2 separate regions of the Homo sapiens genome follow, and region 2 is linked to region 1. Evidence: promoter capture Hi-C in 16 types of primary human blood cells and fetal thymus (Javierre and others, 2016). All regions are on one chromosome and are shown on one strand. Each heading gives the region's core, a stretch centred on a gene start or on the middle of the fragment in contact. The rest is flanking DNA. Distances are from core to core; before and after follow the strand shown. Region 1 holds the start of FOXD2 (forkhead box D2). Region 2 holds the start of DMRTA2 (DMRT like family A2).

Region 1 (4,809 bases), core at 1,419-3,918:
CAGACAGAGCTGGTGACTGCTGAAGTTCACATACATTTATTCAATCGACACCAATGGGAAATAGGCGGCAGACAGATTTTTCTTTTCTTCCACACAGACCATCAGACGATTTCACAGAGCTTCCCCACAGTGGAGAAGTTTAAATCAATGCACACCCAGTGGACAGAGAACGCCGAGAGCAGCGCGCTGTACAGATATTTACACAAAATTATAGGACCCCCTGCCACAGGGTGTGCCCTTGCCCACTCCACCCCCACCTCTCCAGTCCCTGGCCCAGACCCTTCTCTTCCACCCAATCTCATTGCCTTTAGCCACAATAAATATCACAGGGCCTGGGACAGGGTGGAACACTGACAGGGTTGCTGGCCGGAGATGGCTGGACCCAGCCAGCCAAGGGAAAGGAAAGAAATTCCTTTAAAAGCACCCAAACACAAAAGAGAAAGGATTTTCCTCAGTGGAGTGGGATCCAGGGTTTCTGCAGGGAATATAAAGACCCCCTGCTTCACCTCTCCGTTCAGCTCCGCCTGCGTAGACACTGGTTTAGGCTTCAGAGGAAACGAACTTCCTTGGAGAACAGCAAAAAAAAAAAAAAAAAAAAAAAGGTTGAATTTTTCTTTTAAGCACAAAGCAGATAATAGATGTCTTTAAATTATAATATTGGACAAGCAGGGTCTCAACGTTGGGGAAGAAGTGAGAGGGGAAAGGCAGAAAGGGAGACCCTCTGTTGGTGTTTCTGGCGGGATCCGTGGAGCCTGGCCAGGCATCTCTCCCGGAATGTGTTCCCCGAGAGGCGCAGAGGCAGGGAAAAAAACGAAGCCCCCACCCCCCTGCTTTTATTTCTCAAACTGTAAAGAATCTTGGCCTGCGACTTCTTCGCGTAGCCCCGGGCCTGTCGCCCTGAGCGATAGAGCCCGCTTAGTCCCAACTATCTGCGAGATTCTGTGCGTGGAGCCTGAAGTGCCGTGTCACGCGTGCCGGCCCAAGGTCTGGAGACTTCATAAATAGACTCCCTGAGTTCCGCTGGGACCGCAGGAACTCCCGGGAGAGGCTGAGGAGTGCGGACCTAACCGGCCCTGGGCCTGCTGCGGTCAGAAGTGGCAGCCACTAAGGCCGGCGACTTTGCTGGCAAACCGGGACCCTGAGGACAGCAGCGCGTCCCCGGGATGCGAGAGGCGAATGTGGCCAGCAACGGGAGCCAGGGCCGGAGCAGTCAGCATGGCCAAGACCTGGGCTTGGCCCCCAGGACCCGCGGCTGCCGCGAATGGCGGTCCCGGAGAGCCCTCGCCGGCGCCCGGGGGTGCTGCCCCGCCGCCACCGTGGCCCATGATGTGGTCTATAGAGAAGGAAGGCCTCTGCCCTGCCCCGGCGCCCCCGCCGCCTGCACCACCGCCCGCGTCCGTCTTGAGGCCCTGGCGCAGAAGTGCGGTGGGCAGACCCGCCGCGGTGCCGGCTGCGGGAGGACTCAGGGACGCCGCGTAGAAGGCTTTGGCGCAGCCCAGCTCCGCGCCCAGGAAGGCGGGCAGGCCTGCGGGGCCCGGGCCCGGGCCCGAGCCTGAGGCAGGCGCAGGAGCTGGGGCCGATCCCGCGCCTGCGAACACCGAGGCCGTCGGAGGTCCGGGTGGAGGCGCGGCGGCGCGGCCTGGGGGTACCGACAGCTGGCAAGGAGCGGCGGCGGCTGCCGCGGCGAAAGCGAAGGCGTGCGGGTGCGGGTGCGGATGCGGGGCCGGCCCCGGCGGGGGTGCGCCGTAGGCCGGGAGAGCCAGCCCGTAGCCGTAGCCGTAGGCGCCGTAGGCAGCGAAGCCGGGCAGGAAAGCGCCGGGATCCCCCGCCGCCGCGGCCCCGCCACGCAGCAGCAGCTCCGGGTGAGGGTGCGGGTGTGGGTGCGGCGGCGGCAGGGGCTGCCGCTTGAAGCGCTTGCGACGCCGCAGGAAGCTGCCGTTGTCGAACATGTCGGCCGACTCCGGGTCCAGCGTCCAGTAGTTGCCCTTGCCCGGGTTGCCCGGCTCGCGGGGGATCTTGACGAAGCAGTCGTTGAGAGAGAGGTTGTGGCGGATGCTGTTCTGCCAGGCGGGGAACTTCTCCCGGTAGTAGGGGAAGCGGCCGCTGATGAACTCGCAGATCTCGCTCAACGTCAGCCGCTTCTTGGGGCTCTGCAGGATGGCCATGGTGATGAGCGCGATGTACGAGTAGGGCGGCTTCACCAGCGGGCTCCGCGTCGCCGCGCCCCCCGACGGCGGTCCCGGCCCGGGCCCCGCTGCGCCGCGGGCCGCCGCGGCGCCTGGCCCCGGGCTCCCCGCTGCGGCCGCCGCCCCCCGGGACGCCAGAGCGCGGGGCTCGCCGTCCGAGCAGCCACCAGACTCCTCCTCGTCCTCGGCTAAGTCTGCCTCGGCTTCCTCCGCGGGAGGCTCGTGGCCGTGGGGGAGCACGTCCCGGGGGGCGCGGGGCCCGGAGCGAGCTGGGAGCTCCCCCCCGCCGCTGCCGCCGCCCACCACGTCTATGTCTGCGTCGGCCTCGGACAGCGCGGCCGGGGAGCTCTCGGAGGACATGATCTCGCAGCAGCAGCTGCCCAGGGTCATGGTGCCGCTGCCGCCGCCGCCGCCACTCTCCGGCTCCGCTCCGGCAGCGGCTCGGGCTCGGCCGCGCTGCCTCTGGGGCGAGTGCGTTTTGCGCGCGGGCGGGGAGGGGGCGGGGGACTGAGGCAGGCAGGGAGGGGTGTCCCCCGGCTCCGCAGCGCCCCCTGGCGGCCCAGCTCGGCCGCGCTCACCTTCCAGGGCACGACCCGCCGGCGGCCCCCGCCACTACCCCGGGAATCCGAGCTGGGACCCGCCGCTGGGGCGCAACGGAAGGAGCTGAGGCTTTCCCTTACCTGGGCGGGCCTCAGCCCCTAGTCCCCTCGGGGTGGCAGTGGTTGGTGGTGGGGGATTGTCCCTCCCGCCTAGCGGCTGCCTAAGGCGGAAGAGCTGCGGGCTAGGGCGGAGCTCCCTGGGCGGGGTGGGGCGAGGCGACAGGGGCGGGCGTAGCGCCTCCGCTGAGGGACCCGGCGGGAACAAACCGCCGCCGCGGCGGGAGCTGGGCTCGAGTGGCCGGAGGCGGGCCCTTGTCTTCGCCGCCGCTCCTGCACCCTGTGCTCCCTGAAGCCGCCGCCTTCAGAACGCTCAGCCCCTGGATGTTAAGGCTCACTCGGGCGCCAGCCGCAGCCAGGGAAGTGGCGGCGGTCCCCACCCGTCCTCTCCCCAAGGCGGCGCCCGGGCCACCGGGCCGAAGCGCAGTGGGAGCGCGAGGCTGAGACGCCGGGACCCACGCCGCCCCAGCGCGGCCCGCCGGCGCCCACCCGAGCCCGCACGGCTTCCAGCCCGAGGGGAGACGCATTCGAGTGATCACCAGGAGCGAACTTGGCGCCCGCAGCCTTGGGCCTGGGAGAGGTGAGATTGCGGCGGCGCCCTCTCCTCCCTCCGCTGTCGGGCCCGCCACCCCTCTCCGCGCGGAGAGGCCGGGCAGAGCGCCGGCCGCTGTGGCCGCGTTCCCGGGGCGCGGGCCGGTCTACTGCTCCGAGTTTGCCTGTTCTCCGACCCTCTGGATCTCGGCATCCGTTTGTCTCAGTCTCTGTGACTATCTCACTCTCCGTGAGTCTCTGTGGAAACGGCATTTGTCTGGATGTCTGTTCATGGGTCTGGGAATCCGCTTAATTTCTCCCTCCCCTCTCCCTGGCCCCAGTTGCCCTGAGGACTGGACACCCCCCACCTTCCTGGCTCCCAGGGTTCTGGGCCCCACCGACAGGCGGCAGGACCTCCTCCGCCCCCTGCCCGACACCCCCTCAGTGAACCCTGACCTCCACCAAGTGTTGCCTTCATCTCTCAAAAGTCTTGTGCAACTAAGGTTGGCCCTGTGCCTTGTTTCTCGCTAGCCGGGTTCCTGCCCATCCTATTAGACCTCTTTCTCCCCCGGCCTCCCTCCAGGACCCAGAAACAAGCAGCTTCAACACAGATTGGGCCCATTTCAGCCTCTGGGGCACGGAAGGGGAGATGGGCGCTGGACGTGAGCAGGAACTGAGCGGATGCCTGGGCTGCTGCCCCGACAGCGCCGCACAGTGGCTAAAGCTCGGGCGTGCGAGGCCGGAATCCCAGCTGCCTCCGCTGTAGCAAGGCTGTGTGACCCTCATTAGGTGACTTCCCCGCTTCGGAGCCTCAGTTTCCTGGTCTGCATAGTAGTTAAGAGCAGCGACCTTAAGTCAGGCTCCTGGGGTTCCAATCCTGCCTTCACTACTTACCCTATCTGTCACCTTGGGCAAGGTTCTTTGCGCTTTGTTTCTGCCTTTGTAAAAATGAGGCTAGTAACACCTACCTCAGAACTGATGTATAAGTGTAGCCATATTCTAGGCCATTTAGGAAAGGGTACTGAGAACACTTTGCAGTTTCATCTAACAGCAGCCTCCAATCTACGGGATAGCCTGGTGTTAATCCAACTCTCCCATTCCACAGATGGAGCTACAGAGGCCCAGGATAGGGAGAAAGAACTCACCCAGGCTCCTGCAAAGAAATAGAACAGAGTTGGGTTGCAACCCTTTTCACAGAATCCTCAAAATAGAGTTCTTCATCCCCCCAAGGTAAGGGCAGAAAAAAATGGAAGGCAGGTCTGACTACTCATGTCCTTTGAGAGGAAGTCGCCTGGGCCCCCTCTGGGACCTCTGACCAAGGGGATCCATTTAATGTGCTGTTCCAGCATAAACTGTCATTGGAAAAAAGAGAAATCTCGTCCTCAAACCATGGACAGCAAATTGGACAGGGACTAGTAGCCCTGGAATTGGAATTT
Region 2 (4,809 bases), core at 699-3,198, 3.0 Mb before region 1:
ACACCCTCCCTTCCCCACCCCCGCACCCTTGTCCCGCCCCTACCCCGACCGCAGTAATTGAATTGTCACCTGCCCCCCATCCCGCCTCAGGGCTCCAGAGCCACTTGGGAAGCTCGGCTTTGCCAAGCGCCCCAGGCCAGTAAGAGCGGTGCAGCCGAGCCGGCGCCCCAGAAGCCGAGAGGTTACACAAGTCTACGCAGAGAGGCGCACCGGACACGGTAATTAGGAGCAATTCACACGCTCTCGGGCGCACGGAAACTACTTGTCAGGAAATTTTCAACGCTCCTCCTCGCCCACTTTTTTCCACTCCTTTCCTGGCGCGCCCCCTCCCCTCCCAGAGGCACGCAGTGGAGCTTTTGGAGTTTCGAATCTTTCGGACACTGCAGAATGCGGGGCTCCCCGGGCGCGGGCCCGGCCAATCAGAGCGCCGTCTGCCTCCCCTGGCCAATGGCAGGCGCCACATTGTTGTCCAATTCTGTCTAATGGAGCCCTAAGGACCAACAATAGAGCGGGCGAGCGGCTCATTGAGAGTCTGGCAGCGCCGGGCAACTGGGCCCCGGCTGCGCGCAGCGTCCGGCGCGCACCGCGAGGGGACCCGGCACGGCGAGAGTCAGGTCGCGGGTTCCAACCACGCGGCCCGCAGACGAGCCTCCGACCCGGATTTCTGAAGGGAGGGTTGGACTGCGCTGCGTTCTGAGGGGTCCGGAAGTTCGGACATGGTGACTGAAGGAGGGTGACGTGGTCAGATAAGGGGCCGGGGGCAAAGGGAAGCGGCCAAGAGCTCCAGCGTCGCCAGTGGAGCCGGGAGGCGCGTGCAGCGCCAGCGGAGGAGGAGGATCCCGGAGCCCAAGGCAGGTAGTTGAGGGCCGCAGGGAGAGCAGTGGGTGGAGACCTGGTCTGCGGCCCCTGTTGAGGAGGCCTGGGCCCCGTGGGCCTTAGGGACGCCCGAAGGGTCTGGGAGAGGAGGCAACGCTCATAGAGAGGAGGTCTGGGACTCTCGGACGGAGACACAAGGACTCTGTCGCGGGCTCTGGCAGGGACGGGGAACGCGGGAAGCAGAGGAGACCGCGGCAGAAGCGGGGAGCTGGGCCTGCTTGGGCCTTATGGGGCTGCGGCGTGGGAGGGACTCTGGTGTCCGTTTATGGCCAGTTGCGAAGGCGACTCCCCTGGCTTGGTGCGGCCTGCTGGGCCATCCGTGTCCTAGGACCCCAACTCTGAGATCAGAACGCAGGAGCCTGCGCTCGAGAGGGGTCCCCTGGGACCCCAAGACGGGGAGGGCGTGTCTGACGACTCTGTCCCTAAACCCGGAGGGGAGGGGAGGGCAGTGTGAGGTGGTCTTCGAGAAAGATCCCCCTCCCGAAATGCCTAACTTTTCGCAGGATACGTCTTCCGCCCCGACTACTACTCCAGACTGCGAAGCTAAAAAACTGCACCACAGGTTTTACCCAATCCCCTCCCCCAGCATTTGCCTGTGGGGTTTTTTCTTACACATTCCCCTCTCCCAGGCGCGGCCCCTGGATCCCGGACACCCAGATCAGCTGCTTTTCACTGTTTTCCTTGCCCATGAAGCTCATCTTTGGGCTGGGTTTGCCTATACAGAAAGTTTCTTTGGCCGAATTTTTCTCTTTAATACTTCCCAGTCCTAAGCTAAATTCCACATACATTTTGTCTCTCACTCTCTGGAGGCCCTCACCGTGGAACTTTTGGCGCTCACATTTTTACGGGTCCCAGAGCCACTGGGCCTAACTTTGCCCAAGTTGTTTCCTCGTCCTCACTCTGCTTCCTAAAGCTATTCTTTCTGTTGTTGATTTTTCTCTCCAAAGCTTCTGCCCCAAACTGCATTAAAAATAAACAAACAAAAAGAAACAAAACTCCGGCCCAACCGGCCTTCACATCTGCGCCTTCACATCTCTCTCCTCTTCACCCTTCCACCAAACTGACCGTTTTGCTCCGGGTTTTCCTGTTTTGCCCTTGGCATCAGCCTAACTTCTGGGCCAAAACTGTCGCTCTAATCCCAGTCCCGTCAAACGAGCATTTCTCTCACCCGTCTCACCCCAATTAGGCTAAGCTTTGGGGTATCATCTTAACTTTTCCAAATTCTCATTACAGCCATCTGAATCAGTGACTTTCACACTTTACATGTCTCTTTATTTTTTCCAGCGGAATCACTAATTCAGACAAAATCTTACCCCTAGCGTGTATATCAGGTCTAAGAGCAGCCATGGCCAGACTGGGGTGAAGGTGCTAGGGCTCACAAGGAGGTTCCGACTGCACCTCCTCCCAGCAATTCTGGCCCCTCTAGCCCAGCCTCCGCGGCCCAAATTTCCCTCTCCAGCTTGGGTTCCTCAAGGCGGCGCTTTGGCCTAGCGCGCGGTGTGCTCCTCACCAGGTCTCTCCCCTCTCCCACCTTCTTTCCCGTCAGGTCCTGTCATGGAGCTGCGCTCGGAGCTGCCCAGCGTGCCCGGCGCGGCGACGGCGGCGGCGGCAACAGCGACGGGGCCGCCTGTGGCGTCGGTGGCGTCGGTGGCGGCAGCCGCGGCGGCCGCTGCATCGCTACCGGTGAGCGTGGCAGGCGGCTTGCTGCGGGGGCCGCCACTGTTGCTGCGGGCAGCCGAGAAGTACCCGCGGACCCCCAAGTGCGCGCGCTGTCGCAACCATGGCGTGGTGTCGGCCCTCAAGGGCCACAAACGCTACTGTCGCTGGAAGGACTGCCTGTGCGCCAAGTGCACGCTCATCGCGGAGCGCCAGCGTGTCATGGCGGCGCAGGTGGCGCTGCGCAGGCAGCAGGCGCAGGAGGAGAACGAGGCGCGCGAGCTGCAGCTGCTCTACGGCACTGCCGAGGGGCTGGCGCTGGCCGCCGCCAACGGCATCATCCCCCCGAGGCCCGCCTACGAGGTCTTCGGTTCAGTGTGCGCCGCCGACGGCGGGGGACCTGGAGCGGGAGCGCCCGCGGGGACCGGAGGCGGAGCAGCTGGCGCAGGGGGCTCAGGTGAGAGCGCGGCCAGGCCGCAGGTAGGGGCAGCAGGATCGTAGCTCTGGGGCACGGGGCCCAGGGGCTTGTCTCGGTTCAGAAAGAGTAGAACCCCCGTGTCCAGTCGCCGCGACTGCTAGGGTTCACCGCTCGCCCAGCCTCGGGTATGGAGCGTGGGTACAGAAACTCTCCTTTCTCCCGCTTCTGGAGCATTTGCACTTTACCCCTTTCTCCTGCATCGGGCCGAAATGTACACGCTTTAATTTTTTTACTCGCCTCTACCCAAACGCAGGCAGGTCCCTGCTTCTTTGCTTCGTCTTCTCCCCAGGTGGAAACCTGCGCATCTTCGTTCGCTCTGCGCTTCTCCACAGGCCCTTTCCCTCTGCTCCTTCCCAACTCCCTTAAGGAATCCCCCCCCCTTTAACTGACACCCTAGGTTTTGAGACGCCCTAGGTTCTGAGACGCCCTAGTTTCTTTTCCCCTTCTCGCGTTCCTAACGCCCTCTGGACAACCGCTTGCTGCGCCCTCCCTCCTTCTAGTTTCTTCCGCACCCTCCCTGGTTTCTCAGGTCTGCTTTCCTATGTCTTTTCCTCTTCGCTTCCTACTGCCTGCCTAGCACCACCCTCTTTTTCTGGACCCCCGTGGCTTTTTGTGGGGAGGGAAGAAATTAGGCCAGAGCCGTTGAGGGAAAGGAGGGATCCGCTCTAAACTTGGGAGGGAAGAACTTCTCAGGTCTCAATTTTGGAAAGGGTGGATTAGAAACAGGGGCTGTACTTCTGCCTGTAGAGAAGCTTGGGACCTCCTAGATAACCAAGGCGCCTTTCCTTACAGGCTGCACTGCCAGGGCAGGCATTTTCTATACAGTGGGCTCTTCTGTACAGCGTGGTTAGGCAGAAGTTATGTTGTCTCTTGTTTGAACCCTGGACCTGGCCACTTCTCCACGGCAGGGCAGGACTGGAAGGGCAGTTAAGGGTGGAGGTGTTGGGGCACAGACGTGGGGAAAGCAGCACTGAACATCGAGTTTACAGGGCACAGGTAGTTGGGGTTCTGAGGAGTACAGAAAGAGAGGGAGCCCTGGGGTCAGGGCTGTAGGGGCTCAGAGCGGAAGGAATGCTAGAGCAAAAAGAAAGAGGGGCACTGGAGCCTAGTGAATAAGGGCTGTGGGGCTGAGGGAGAGGAAACTGAGATCCAAAGGGCCGAGGTGCTGTGACTGCTGTCTTCTAGCTAACCGCTCCTCACGACACGTTTTCTCCCCTCCCAGAGGCCAAGTTGCAGAAGTTTGACCTGTTTCCTAAGACGCTGCTGCAGGCAGGCCGCCCGGGCAGCCCGCTGCCGCCGCCGGTGAAGCCCTTATCACCCGACGGCGCAGACTCGGGGCCCGGGACGTCGTCCCCAGAGGTGCGGCCCGGCTCAGGCTCGGAGAACGGCGATGGCGAGTCCTTTTCTGGTTCGCCCCTAGCTCGGGCCTCCAAAGAGGCAGGTGGCAGCTGCCCAGGCAGCGCTGGCCCTGGCGGCGGCGGCGAGGAGGACAGCCCGGGCTCCGCTAGCCCTCTGGGCTCTGAATCCGGTTCAGAGGCTGACAAAGAAGAGGGTGAGGCCGCGCCGGCGCCAGGGCTGGGCGGAGGCTCGGGTCCACGGCAGCGGACGCCGCTGGATATCTTGACACGCGTGTTCCCAGGCCACCGGCGAGGCGTCCTGGAGCTGGTGTTGCAGGGCTGCGGCGGCGACGTGGTGCAGGCCATCGAGCAGGTGCTGAACCACCACCGTGGGGGCCTGGCGGCCGGCCTGGGCCCTGCGGCGCCCCCAGATAAGGCCGCCGTGGGTGCTGCAGCAGCTGC

The links. Contacts are between HindIII fragments. The CHiCAGO score rates a contact against its expected background, and 5 or more counts as called.
Region 2: a fragment that was not itself captured here is called in contact with the fragment with the promoter of FOXD2 in region 1 in 2 of 17 cell types (total B cells and naive B cells); the score reaches 12.0 in total B cells.

The regions. Positions count from the first base shown.
Region 1 is chr1:47,435,903-47,440,711 of GRCh38, reverse strand. It overlaps FOXD2 (forkhead box D2), which reads right to left and starts at 2,668. Exons shown (of 1, transcript NM_004474.4): 1 at 21-2,668. The coding sequence starts at 2,576. The coding sequence ends at 1,089. It overlaps LINC01389 (long intergenic non-protein coding RNA 1389), which reads left to right and starts at 3,395. Exons shown (of 5, transcript NR_126355.1): 1 at 3,395-3,422. RefSeq lists an enhancer at 481-1,250 and silencers at 2,439-2,618, 2,649-3,548, 4,029-4,188. The HindIII fragment of the contact is 12,776 bases long and covers 1-4,809 here.
Region 2 is chr1:50,419,158-50,423,966 of GRCh38, reverse strand. DMRTA2 (DMRT like family A2) reads left to right here and starts at 524. Exons shown (of 3, transcript NM_032110.3): 1 at 524-851; 2 at 2,423-2,989; 3 at 4,233-4,809. The coding sequence starts at 2,431. It overlaps LOC105378714 (a long non-coding RNA gene), which reads right to left and starts at 421. Exons shown (of 3, transcript XR_947325.3): 1 at 70-421. RefSeq lists enhancers at 2,229-2,728, 3,964-4,809. The HindIII fragment of the contact is 245 bases long and covers 1,826-2,070 here.